Linked DNA regions of Homo sapiens: region 2 is linked to region 1. Evidence: promoter capture Hi-C in human tissues and cell types (Jung and others, 2019). All regions are on one chromosome and are shown on one strand. The core of a region is centred on a gene start or on the middle of the fragment in contact, and the rest is flanking DNA. Distances in the headings are between cores, read along the strand shown. Region 1 holds the start of RAPSN (receptor associated protein of the synapse). Region 2 overlaps NUP160 (nucleoporin 160).

Evidence for each region. The method cuts DNA at HindIII sites, captures the fragments that hold promoters and counts their contacts. A contact is called where the count stands out against the background at its distance.
Region 2: a contact is called between a fragment that was not itself captured here and the fragment with the promoter of RAPSN in region 1, in 1 of the 25 tissues and cell types used here (small bowel).

What each region holds. Positions count from the first base shown.
Region 1 is chr11:47,447,886-47,454,460 of GRCh38, reverse strand. It overlaps RAPSN (receptor associated protein of the synapse), which reads left to right and starts at 5,325. Exons shown (of 8, transcript NM_005055.5): 1 at 5,325-5,688; 2 at 6,311-6,575. The coding sequence starts at 5,497. The HindIII fragment of the contact is 7,804 bases long and covers 844-6,575 here.
Region 2 is chr11:47,780,882-47,787,456 of GRCh38, reverse strand. NUP160 (nucleoporin 160) reads left to right here. Exons shown (of 36, transcript NM_015231.3): 32 at 903-1,004; 33 at 2,394-2,535; 34 at 4,259-4,384. Among named protein-coding and RNA genes, the nearest start is that of FNBP4, 17 kb to the right of the region's middle. The HindIII fragment of the contact is 4,341 bases long and covers 1,028-5,368 here.

The sequences.
Region 1 (6,575 bases), core at 4,076-6,575:
AAAAAAAAAAAAAAAGAACGAGACTCTACAACCACACTGCTTCTGGTCCCAGCTGTCTAGGACCAGCAGATGGCAGTGTAGTCTTGGGCAGGTCACCTTACCTCTCCATGCCTGTTTCCTCATTTGTAAACTGGAAGAAATGCTTAACTCAGAAAATGTTAGAATGTTAAATAGGATTCTCTGTTGGTCTCCTCTTACCTTGCCAGGGGCCGTGCCGTTAGTTACTAGTAGTACAAAGACAAGTAAACCACAGTCGTTGCCATAGAGGAGCATGCCCTTAACCTAACTACAGTCGCTGATTTCTGGAAAACGTGCTCAGAAATGAAATTTTTGAGGCCGGGCATGGTGGCTCACGGGAGGCTGAGGCGGGCAGATCACTTAAGGCCAAAAGTTCGAGACCAGCCTGGCCAACATGGTGGAACCCCGTCTCTACTAAAACTGCAAAACTTAGCCAGGTGTAGTGGTGCTCGCCTGTAATTCCAGCTTCTTGGGAGGCTGAGGCAGGAGAATTGCTTGAACCCAGGAGGCAGAGGTTGCAGTGAGCCGAGATCCCACTGTGTCCGCAGTTGGTTCCTTCTAGTGGGTTCGTGGTCCCGCTGACTTCAAGAATGAAGCCGTAAACCTCTGTGGTGAGTGTTACAGCTATTAAAGGTGGTGCAGACCCAAAGAGTGAGCAACAGCAAGATTTATTGTGGAGAGCAAAAGAACAAAGCTCCCACAGCGTGGAACGGAACCTAAGCGGGTTTCTGCTGCTGGCTTGTTGGGGTGGGGATGGGCTGGTCGGGGAGGCAGCTTTTATTCCTTTATTTGTCTCCACCCATGTCCTGCTGATTGGCCCATTTTACAGAGCACTGATTGGTCCATTTTACAGGGTGCTGATTGGTCCATTTTACAAATCTCCAGCTAGCTACGGAGCACCGATTGGTGTGTTTTTACAGAGCACTGATTGGTGCATTTTACAAACCTCTAGTTAGCTACAGAAAAGTTCTCCTAGTCACCACTCCACCCAGGAAGTCCAGCTGGCTTCACCTCTCACCACCACGGGCACTCCAGCCTGGGCGACAAGAGTGAAAAACTCCATCTCAAAAAAAAAAATAATAATAAAGAAGAAATGAAATGTTTCAAGGAAACATAAGGTACTCTGCTACCTAGAATAAGCGAGTATGGGCATATTCCCATCACTGAAGTCAGATGAGCAAAGACCTGTCTCAGGGAAAGGACAGCTTGATCCCATCAAGTTTTCAAGTTTTGAGGTCATTTGAGTTCCCCAGGAAAGAGGAAGGCTGTGGTCCCCAACTCTGTTGGGGTGTAGATGCAGGCCGCCCTTCCTCCATTCCTTCCTGCCAGAGACTCAATGTGAATAGTGTCTGGGCCTTGGAGTGGGGAGAATCTGCTGGCCCTTCACACCTTCGCTGTGGGCCCAGCTTCCCTCCCATCTGCAGCTCAGCATCAACCCAGGCCTCCCTGAGATGAGAGAAGACCCCAGCCAGCTCTCCCTCCCTTTCCCAGGCTTAGGAGCACTCCTTTGGGGAGTCCAGGTGGCCTTGCCCAGCCACCTGTCCCAGAGCCTGCTCCCACTCTGCCTCTGTTGAGCCTGGGGCATTTGCCTTCTGACCCCCAGAGCGTCCCCTCTGACCCGTTGGGCTCTCAGGAAGCAGGCCGTGTAGTTGCTCTGAATTTCCCGGTGAAGCCGTCTTTCCTCCGCTTCTTCCCCATTCACCGATATTTGACATTTATTGAGGGGCCACAGTGTGCCGGGCCTTGCTCTGGGAATACAGTCAGTAATGAAGGAGACAAAGTCCTGCCCTGGGTTAGGGCCCAGCCATATGACCTCATTTGAGTGAAGAATAAAGACATTCAGCAAACAACCTCACTAATATAAAATTATAGAGAGGCTGGGCGTGGTGGCTCACGCCTGTAATCCCAGCACTTTGGGATGCCCAGGCCAGCGGATCACTTGAGCACAGGAGTTCAAAACCAGCCTGGCCAACATGGTGAAACCCCGTCTCTACTAAAAATATAAAAATTAGCTGGGCATGGTGGCATTGCCTGTAATGCCAGCTACTTGCGAGGGTTGAGGTGGGAGGGTGGCTTGAGCCCAGGAGGTCGAGGCCTCAGTGAGCCTAGATTGTACCACTGCACTCCAGCCTGGGCGACAAAGTGAGACCCTGTCTCAAAATAAAATTATAGAGATAAGTCCTGTATCAGAATGCAGTGTAATTCAATGAGAGGATAATATGCTGATTCATCCTAATTATGACTTACGAGGCAGAGTGTGGGTGTGGTGAACAGAGAAGGAATTAGGAGGTGCAAAGGCCCTGGGGCAGACAGGTAGGCAGGTACCAGAATGTAACAGTTGCCATATTACTCACACTTCTGCTCCAAGCATATACCTAAGAGAAATGAAAACATGTCCCCATAAAACCTAGTACATGAATTTTTTATTTTTTTGAAACAGGGTCTCGCTCTGTCACCCAGGCTGGAGTGTAGTGACATGATTGCGGCTCACTGCAGTCCAAGCTTGTAGGCTCAAGCGATTCTCCTGCCTCAGCCTCGCGAGTAGCTGGGACCACAGCTGTGCACCACCACACCCAGCTAATTTTTTTTTTTTTTTGTATTTTTTGTAGATATGGGGTCTCGCTATGTTTCCCAAGCTGGTCTCCAACTCCTGGGCTCAAGTGATCTGCCTGCTTCAGCCTCCTAGTGTGCTGGGATTACAGGCGTGAGCCACCGTGCCCAGCCCAATTTGTACATGAATTTTTATAGCATCATTATTCATAGTAGCCAAAAATGAAACAACCCAAATGCCTATTAACTGCTGAATCAACAAAATGTATATCCAGACAATGAGTATTAACCAACCACAATAAGTAATGAAGTTCTGATACGGTTGAAAACATAGTTGAATCTTGAAAACATTATGCCAAGTTAAAGAAGCCAGTCACAGATGACCACATATTGTATGATTCCATTCCTGTGAAGGGTCCACAATAGACAGGTCCATAGACACCAGGTGGCTTAAATAACAGAAATTTATTTTCTCACAGTTCTGGACGCTAGAAGTCCAAGATCAAGGAATTGGCAGAGTTGGTTTCATTCTAAGGCCTTGCTCCTGGGCTTGTAGATAGCCATCTTCTCCCTGTGTCTTCACGTGCTCTTCTTCTGTGTGACTGTGTCCTTTTTAAACATTTATTGTGGGCCAGGTGCGGGGGCTCACGCCTGTAATCCCAACACTTTGGGAGGCAGAGGTGGGCAGATCATGAAGTCAGGAGTTCCAGACCAGCCTGACCAACATGGTGAAACCCCGTCTCTACTAAAAATACAAAAATTAGCCAGGTGTGGTGGTGCGCAGCTGTAATCCCAGCTACTCAGGAGGCTGAGGCAGGAGAATCACTTGAACCTGGGAGGTGAAGGTTGCAGTGAGCCAAGATGGCACCACCACACTCCAGCCTGGGTGACAGAGGGAAAGTGTCTCAAAAAAAAAAAAAAGTATTGTGGTCAGGCATGGTGGCTCACGCCTATAACCCCAATACTTCGGGAGGCTCTGAGGCAGGTGGATCAACTGAGGTCAGAAGTTCAAGACCAGCCTGACCAACATGGTGAAACCCCGTCTCTACTAAATACAAAAACTTAGCCAGGCGTGGTGGCATACACCTGTCATCCCAGCTACTTGGGAGGCTGAGGCAGGAGAATTGCTTGAACCCGGGAGGTAGAAGTCTCAGTGAGCTGAGATTGTGCCACTGCACTCCAGCCTATGCAACAAGAGCAAAACTCCGTCTCAAAAATAATTTTTAAAAATAAAAATTTATTGTTTATTTATTTTTTGAGACAAGGTCTTGCTCTGGTGCTCAGGCTGGAGTGCAGTGGCACAATCACGGCTCACTGAAACCTCCACCTCCAGGAGTTCAAGACCAGCCTGGGCAACATGGTGAAACCCATCTCTACAAAAACTAGACAGCTGTGGTCTCAGCTACCCAGGAGACTGAGGTGGGAGGGTCACTTGAGCCTAGGAGGTAGAGGTTGCAGTGAGCTGTGACTGCACCACTGCACTCCAGCCTAGGTGACAGAGTGAGACCCTGTCTCAAAAAAAAGGGGGGGGGGATACCAGTCTTAACTGGATGAGGTACAATGTGACTTCATTTTACCTTAATCACCCTTTAAAGACCCTGTCTCCAAAGACAGTCACCTTATGAGATACTGAGTGTTAGGACTTAAACATATGCGTTTGGTTGCGGGGGGACATGATTCAGTCATATCAAGGTGGGGAATGGAGTGGTGTAACTGCTGATGGGTGTGCGTCTCCTTTTTGGGGTGGTTAAAATGTTCTGGAATTAGTGGCAATTAATGTGCATCTCTGTGAATATACTAAAAACCACTGAATTGCCCAGCCAGAAAGGATAAACTTTTGCCCTGGGGCAGGAAGAAGGCTGGCATGCAGAGAGAGGAGAAAGGGGGGCTGGATGAGCTGGCCTGCTAGCGGGGGCCCCAATACTACATAAGACCTTGCCCTTCTCCACAGTATCTGGTGTTAAATCTCATTATGAGGACCCTTTCAGCCCGGGGTTGGGATTGGAAGTGAGACATTGAAACTTCAAGGGCTGGGTTCTGGCCCGGGTGGGGATTTGCCATGGAGCAAAATAGCCTCTTGCAGCACATGCGGGGTTTCCTGTGCCGGGCACTGTCCTAAGTCCTTCTCAACTCTTTCGTCATTGAGTTCTCATAGCAGTCCAGTGAGCCAGGTACCATTCCTCTCTTCAGTCCACGGTGCCAGGTCACTTGGCTAGGGTCCCACTGAGAGTTCGAAGGAAGCCAGGCTAGAGCTCAGGCCTCTCACCAGCTGGAGGTCTTTCCCAGACTCTCTAAGGTGAGAGTTGGTGAATGGTGTCAGCCTGGGCCTGGATGAGTGACCCACGGTGCTCAGTGAATTTCAGGAACAGAGCCAGGGGATGCTGCGGTCAGGGGTGTCTTGATGGGGAAGAAGCAGGGCTGGGCGCTCACCTGGCTTCCCCGGACCTGCAGGTCCAGCCTCGCTCTCCTTCCCCCGAGCACCTCTAGCCCAAGGCCTGCCCACTTGCTGGAGCTGGCCCCTTGGCAAGGCTGCTGGGAGGGCCCGTGCTGCCAGGGCGGTCAGGGTCAGTGTCAGAGGTGCCTAAGGGACGCCCAAGGGGGTGCCCAGGTGGCAAGGTGCCTGTATGCTCAGGGAAGCCACGTCCCAGCTCGCGGGTGGGTGCAGCAGAGGCCCACGTGACCTTGCTGCTGACATTCCTCAGAGGCCATGTGGCCCCAACTGGCAGCGACAGCTGCAGACGGGCTGAACCAGCTTTGTTCCCAGGGTGGCGCCTGCTCTCCATCCAGGCCCCATTCCGGCTCCCACCCGACGCTGCTTTTGTTCCCACGTTTCGGGGGGCAGCTGGCACTGTGATTCCTGCCCCATGAGTGCCTAGAGGCACGGAGCCACCAGGGATCACCCCACGTGGGACACAGGGCTTGGGGAGGATGGGGCAGGACCAGACCAAGCAGCAGATCGAGAAGGGGCTCCAGCTGTACCAGTCCAACCAGACAGAGAAGGCATTGCAGGTGTGGACAAAGGTGCTGGAGAAGAGCTCGGACCTCATGGGGCGCTTCCGCGTGCTGGGCTGCCTGGTCACAGCCCACTCGGAGATGGGCCGCTACAAGGAGATGCTGAAGGTGGGTGTACCCGGCCTGGGGGCGTTCGAGGGTCAGGCTGGGGCCGGATGTCTCCCAGGCTCCCCAGTCCCCTCTCGGCCTCCTCGGGCTCCCCTGTGTCCCACAGGCTGGCAGCCAGGGCCCGAGGCTCTGAATTTATATCTAAGGCCCTGGGTCTTAGATACTGAGTCTTGGCATCAGATTCAGGCCTGTGGCCTTGAACTGTGGTGCCCGAGTCTCTGAGACTGAGGTTCTCCAGCCTCAGGGTCGAGGGTTTGTGGGTCTCAAGCCCATTGTAGGTTTCAGCCTTCCTGTCTGGTGTTCTGTGTCTGAGCCTGGCGGGGTGTGGGCTCCAGGGTTGCGGCTGGGGGTGGGTGGGTGGTGGAGACTCCAGATCTGAGGCTTGGGATAGAAGGTGAAGGCTGCAAGCCTGAGCTTGGGAGGTGAGGCTGGGGTGTAGGGAAGGTAGCTGAGGCTGGCGGGTAGAAGCTCTGGGTCTGAAAAGAAGCTTTGGGATCTGCTGCTTTGGGTGTGAGGCTGGGGGGTGGGTGTGGGGCCTCCAGGTCTGAGCCTGCAGTGCAGGCTGGGGTCCAAGGCTCAGAGTCCAGGCTGAGCACCACCTGCCCACCGTCGCTGTGTGCAGTTCGCTGTGGTCCAGATCGACACGGCCCGGGAGCTGGAGGATGCCGACTTCCTCCTGGAGAGCTACCTGAACCTGGCACGCAGCAACGAGAAGCTGTGCGAGTTTCACAAGACCATCTCCTACTGCAAGACCTGCCTTGGGCTGCCTGGTACCAGGGCAGGTGCCCAGCTCGGAGGCCAGGTCAGCCTGAGCATGGGCAATGCCTTCCTGGGCCTCAGCGTCTTCCAGAAGGCCCTGGAGAGCTTCGAGAAGGCCCTGCGCTATG
Region 2 (6,575 bases), core at 1,949-4,448, 340 kb before region 1:
CTCTGTTTCAAAAAAAAAAAAAAAAAAAGTTTGTGAATTAGAAATAATTTTGAACTTTCAGAATTTTTCAGCCAGGTGCAGTGGCTTACGCCTGTAATGCCATCACGTTGGGAGGCCAAGGTGGGCAGATCACTTGAGGTCAGGAGTTCAAGACCTGCCCGGCCAACATGACGAAACCCCATCTCTACTAAAAATACAAAAGTTAGCCAGGAGAGGTGGCGTGTGCCTGTAATCCCAGCTACTTGGGTGGCTAAGGCAGGAGAATCGCTTGAGCCTGGGAGACGGAGGTTACAATGAGTTGAGATTGCGCCACTGCACTCCAGCCTGGGCAACAGAGCGAGACTCCATCTTAATTTAAAAAAAAAAAGAGGCCAGGTGCGGTGGCTCATACCTGTTATCCCAGGACTTTGGGAGACCTAGGCGGGCGGATCATGAGGTCAGGAGATCAAGACCATCCTGGCTAACACAGTGAAACCCCGTCTCTACTAAATATACAAAAAATTAGCCAGGCATGGTGGCATGGGCCTGTAGTCCCAGCTACTCAGGAGGCTGAGACAGGAGAATCACTTGAACCTGGGAGGCAGAGGTTGCAGTGAGCTGAGATTGCACCACTGCACTGCAGCCTGGGTGACAGAGCAAGACTCCATCTCAAAAAAAAAGAAAAGAAAAAAGAATTTTTCATCATTAATTTTATCTTGGAAGTAAATTGTCTCTTAATGCTTACTCATGTTCTTGTAGGTATCCAGTTGTGTAACTTGAGGAAGAGATGAGCCAATATTCCAGTAGTGAATTCAGCAAAAGACTAGAGATGAAGTTGTCATCTATCTCTCTAGTTTTAGTATCAAATTAAAGTGGTACGTTTCAGCGTTCAGTTTTCAAGTGTGGAACCATTTTCATTCCAGATGCATCAAATTGCAATTTGGAGGAGAGGCAGCACAAGCAGAAGCCTGGGCCTGGCTAGCAGCCAATCAGCTCTCATCTGTCATCACTACTAAGGAGTCTAGGTACAACCCTGGTGTTCAACCCTGGGTAGTTTTGCCTTTCTAAAAGCTGTAACTGTCTTTCTCTGACTAAATTGTCCTACATAGATCATTTCACTTTTTTCTTTCTTTTTGGCTAAGTTTTTATAGGGGCTGGAAAGTTTATAATTAAGGTGACATCATGTCATTTATTGTCCAAACTAGGATGTCTTTGCCTATGAAATGTCTCCTTCTCCATATCCCCCTCCTCAAAGACTTACTGTTTCATATCAGGAAAGGGTACTCTTACAGGCAAAAATCTGTATTTACTTGTTTCGGAGTGTTATCCTCCTTTTTTCCCCCATTTCTTCCACTGAGCAGTCACTGCATGGTTTCATCACAGTGTCCTCTTATATCTTGTCTCCAGCTGCTGTTCAGCAGTCTGTCACCCATCAGCCCCCATCATCCACTATACCTTCTTCAGATCTCCTCTGGTTCGTATACTTCCCCAGTGCACCCACTTTGTGTCCACGTAAATATACTTCAGCTTCTTCAGAAACCTTCTCTAACATTCCTAACCCTCAGTAAACTTCCCTTTCTGAACTGCATTTGCACTTGGTATTATACAGCTTAGCACTTTAGAGTGATAGCACTTTAGAATTTGGAAGTTCTCTGACATTAGTTTTCAACCCCTAAATTAGCACATCAGAATAACTTATTAAAATACAGATTATGAGAAATCACCCTAGTCTTCTAAGTTAGAACTTCTGCATGATTCTAATGCTTGATCAGGTTTGAGAACCAGTGTTCTGAACCAGTTTCTTGTTTTAGAAATGCAGAAACAAAGGAGTTAAATGAATTATGCATTAATAGCCAAACAAATAACGTTCATTTACTAAATATGTTTGTTTACTAAATACTAAATACGTTAGTGGGAGAGGAATATACGAACCCAAGACATCTAGTTTCTAGTGCTATCCCCATAAGTCACATTAGCCCAAATAATATTTGTTCCCATTTAGCTATATTATTGATTCAGTTGTTAATTTCTAAAGTTTTCCTTGTAAGGCTGGGCATGGTGACTCCTGCCTGTAATCCCAACACTTAGGGAGGACAAGGTCAGAGGATCACTTTAGCTCTGGAGTTTAATACCAGCGTGGACAACATAGCAAGTCCTTGTCTCTACAAAACATAAACAAAATTAGCTGGGCATAGTGGTGCATGCCTGTATTCCCAGCTATTTAGGAAGCTGAAATGGGAGAATCTGGGGCTGAGGCTGCAGTGAGCTGAGATCACACCACTCCACTCTAGCCTGGGTGACAGAGCAAGACCCTGTCTGAAAAAAAAGTTTTCCTTGTAAATACATGCTTTGAATGGTACTCTAAATAGCTATTAAGAATCTGAAACTCATTAGTCATTTTTGTTTTTTTCAAGTGCTACAGATGAAGCATGGCGACTATTATCCACTTACCTGGAGAGGTACAAAGTCCAGAATAACTTGTATCACCACTGTGTAATCAACAAGCTCTTGTCTCATGGAGTGCCTCTGCCTAATTGGCTTATAAACAGTTACAAGGTAAACGGATTATAACTTGTACAGAGTAAGAACCCACTCTTTATCATTCTGGATAACTTCATGAGATGATTAAAAATATGGACTGATTGCAGTGGCTCATACCTGTCATGCCCGCACATTGGTAGGCCAACAGGGGAGGATGGCTTGAGCCCAGGAGTTTGAGACCAGCTTGGGCAACACAGGGAGACCCCATCTCTATTTAAATTTAAAAATATATAAAGAAAAAGAAAAAGATGGGGTGATAACTTATGGGAACATATTGACTTACGTACTTTGGGAAGCTTTTCATCATAGCTAAAACCATAAGAACAATTCAAATTCATTTCCACAGTACTACTGTGTATTTAGATTTGAAGTTTCATAGGTTAGTAATTAGGTTAATGACTCCTATTATATTCACTGAACAATGAGTTTATATTTAGAACAATGAGCATATGCATGACACAGGATTTACTCTTCATACCTCAAAAAAGTCACAGGAGTCGGTGGAGTACTTTTCAAATAATATAACACTATGGCTGGTCTGAGTGCCGTGTTGTTTACAACTAATTGAGCACAACCAGTTTCCGATTGGTTCCTTCTCCACTCCCACTGTTTCACCTATTAAAAATCAAAAACGGGTTCTTAGACTGTCTGCATCAGAATTATTCAGATGGCAGTCTTCTTCAAAATACAGATTCCTCATCCTAGACTTACAGAATCAGATTATCTCAGGCTAGGAGCCAGAAATCTACATTTTAAGAAGCTCCTAATTTGATTTTGATGCATGCTAAAGTTTGAGAACTTCTGCATCTGAACCACCGTTAGTAGGATAAGGAAAGAGAAAATCTAAAGCTTAAAATCAGGAAAGTTTTTTTTGGTTTTTTTTGTTTTGTTTTGTTTTGTTTTTTTTGTTTTTGTTTTTGTTTTTTTTTTAAGGTAGAAAGGAGGCCGGGCACGGTGACTCACGCCTGTAAACCCAGCGCTTTGGGAGGCCAAGGCAGGCAGATCACCTGAGGTCAGGAATTCGAGACCAGCCTGGCCAACATGGTGAAACCCCATCTCCACTAAAAATACAAAAATTATCTGGATGTGATGGTGCGTGCCTGTAATCTCAGCTACTCTGGAGGCAGAGGTTACAGTGATCTGAGGTTGCACCACTGCCCCCAAGCCTGGGCGACAGAGCAAGACTCTGTCTCAAAAAAAATAAATAAATAGGAAAGTAGGGAAGCCAGCTAAGATGGTAAAGGTAAGATTGTGATCAAATGGGAATATAGAAAGCATGCTTAATTAATAGAGCTCTTCCAAATAGAGACTTCAGATTTAAAGCTGGTGATTCTTTGAACTTCTTTTGCATTTGTCATTCATATATTTCTTATTATGTGAATATATTGTCACTTTAGTGTTCAGGAAAAGTTTGTTGACTTTACAACTGTGGAAACTGAAGTGGAGAGAAGTTAAAATATGTCTTAGGTCATAAAACAGGGGAAGAAGGCTATTTAACAGATAAGGGCCTCCCAAACTGCCTAGAGGTAACGGCTCTTAGGGATTTAACTTTTTTTTTTTCCTAACTCCCCAGATTTGTTATCAGCTCTTATCCTAAGATACAGATGAGTAAACCAAGCCACTGGTTTAATTATATTGAGAAATACAAATGTTAGGGAATCAGCCACTCAACATTCTTTGGTCAGTACTCAAGTAGGAGGGAAATAGGTACATATTCTTAATCACTGACTTTTCACAGAAGGTTGATGCTGCTGAATTGCTTCGTTTATACTTAAACTATGACCTTTTAGAAGAAGCTGTGGATTTGGTGTCAGAATATGTGGATGCTGTATTGGGAAAAGGACATCAATACTTCGGAATTGAGGTAGGCATATACAAATGGTCCCCAATTTACAATGGTTTGACTTACGATTTTTCAACTTTACAGTGGTTTGAAAGTGATGAACATTTATGAGAAACCATACTTTAAAATACTGATGGCCGGGCACAGTGACTCATGCCTATAATCCCAGCACTTTGGGAGGCCGAGGCAGACAGATCACCTGAGGTCAGGAGTTCGAAACCAGTTTGGCCAACATGGCAAAGCCCCGTCTCTACTAAAAATACAGAAATTAGCCAGATGCAGTGGCACGTACCTGTAATCCCAGCTACTCAGGAGGCTGAGGCAGGAGAATCGCTTGAACCTGGGAGGCAGAGGTTGCAGTGAGCCGAGATCATGCCACTGCACTCCAGCCTGGGCAACAGAGCGAGACTCCATCTCAAAAATAAATAAATAAATAAATAATAAATAAATAAAATACTCATACAACCGTTCAGTTTTTCAGTTGCAGTACAGTATTCAATAAATTACACAAGATATTCAACAGTGTATTATAAAGTAGGCTTTCTGTTAGATGATTTTGCCCAACTTTATAGGTTAACGTTAAGTGTCCTGAGCATGGTTAAGTAGGCTAGGCTAAGCCGTGATGTTCATTAGGTTAGATGTATTATATGTATTTTCAACCTATGATATTTTCAACTGATAGTGGGTTTATTGGAAAACAAACCCACCATAAGTTGAGGAACATCGGTATAGGCGCATATATATATATATATATATATATATATATATATATATATATATATATATATATTTTTTTTTTTTTTTAACTGAGTTTTGCTCTGTTGCCCAAGCTGGAGTGCAGTGATGCAGCCTCCACTTACTCCCTCACTGCAGCCTCCGCCTCCCGGGTTCAAGTGATTCTCCTGCCTCAGCCTCCTGAGTAGCTGGGATTACAGGCACCTGCCACCACATCCAGCTAATTTTTTAATATTTTTGGTAGAGATGGGGCTTCACCATGTTGGCCAGGCTGGTCTCGGAACTCCTAACCTCAAGTGATCCACCCACCTCGGCCTCCCAAAGTGCTGGGATTACCCATGTGAGCCACCATGCCCGGCCTAGGCATTTCTTTTTATTATCATGCTATGTAAGGTGAGAATCTGAGAGTAAATTGAACTATATGTTAGTGTATTTAACCTTTACTATCTGTAGTTATACAACTAAATATTGACACTCTAGGAATCTCTAGTCTCCTGTTTATAAAATAGGAATTTCATCTTTCTCTATCAAAATAATATGGCATTAGTTAGGATTCAGTGGAGAGAGATAAACAAAATGGTATTGTGTGTGTGCCGGGACTGTGTTAAGTCTCTACAAGCATTTTTTTATTTAATCCTTATAGCAGCCTTATGAAGGAATGTTTTAATTTTCTATTTTTTAACCCATGAGGGAACAGGCTCAGAGGTTATCACAGGCTCATACAGATGGCAAATATAATAGAAGAGCCAGGTCTAAATAGGTGTAGTTAACTACAGCTTCAACCCTCATGAAATCAGCCAGGTGCAATAGCTCACACCTGTAATCCTAGCACTTTCGGAGGTCAAGGTGTGAGGATCGTTTAAACCCAGAGGTTAAGACCAGCCTTGGCAACATAGTGAGAACCTTTATCTACAAAAAATAGAAAAAAATTAGCTGGTCATGGTGGTGCGTGCCTATAGTCCCAGCTATGTGGGAAGCTGAGGTGGGAGGATCACATGAGCCCTGGAGGTTGAGGGTACAGTGAGCTATGATCATGCCACTACACTCCAGCCTGAGTGACAGAGTGAGACCCTGTCTGAAAAAAAAAAGAAAGTTGACATGAAATTATTTTTTATTTTTATTTTTTTATTTTTTCCAAGACGGAGTCTCGCTCTGTCGCCCAGGCTTGAGTGCAGTGGCATGATCTCGGCTCACTGTAACCTCCGCCTCCCGGGTTCAAGCAATTCTTCAGCCTCAGCCTCCCGAGCAGCTGGGACTACATCTGTGCCACCACACCTGGCTAATTTTTGTATTTTTAGTAGAGACGGGGTTTCACCATATTGGCCAGGCTGGTCTCGAACTCCTGACCTTGTGATCCGCCCACCTCGGCCTCCCAAAACGTTGGAATTACAGGCCCAGCCGACATGAATTTTTAAATATATTTAACCGAAAAAAATGACAAGTTTCCCAGTTGGAGAAAAGAGGGTTCCCATTGTGT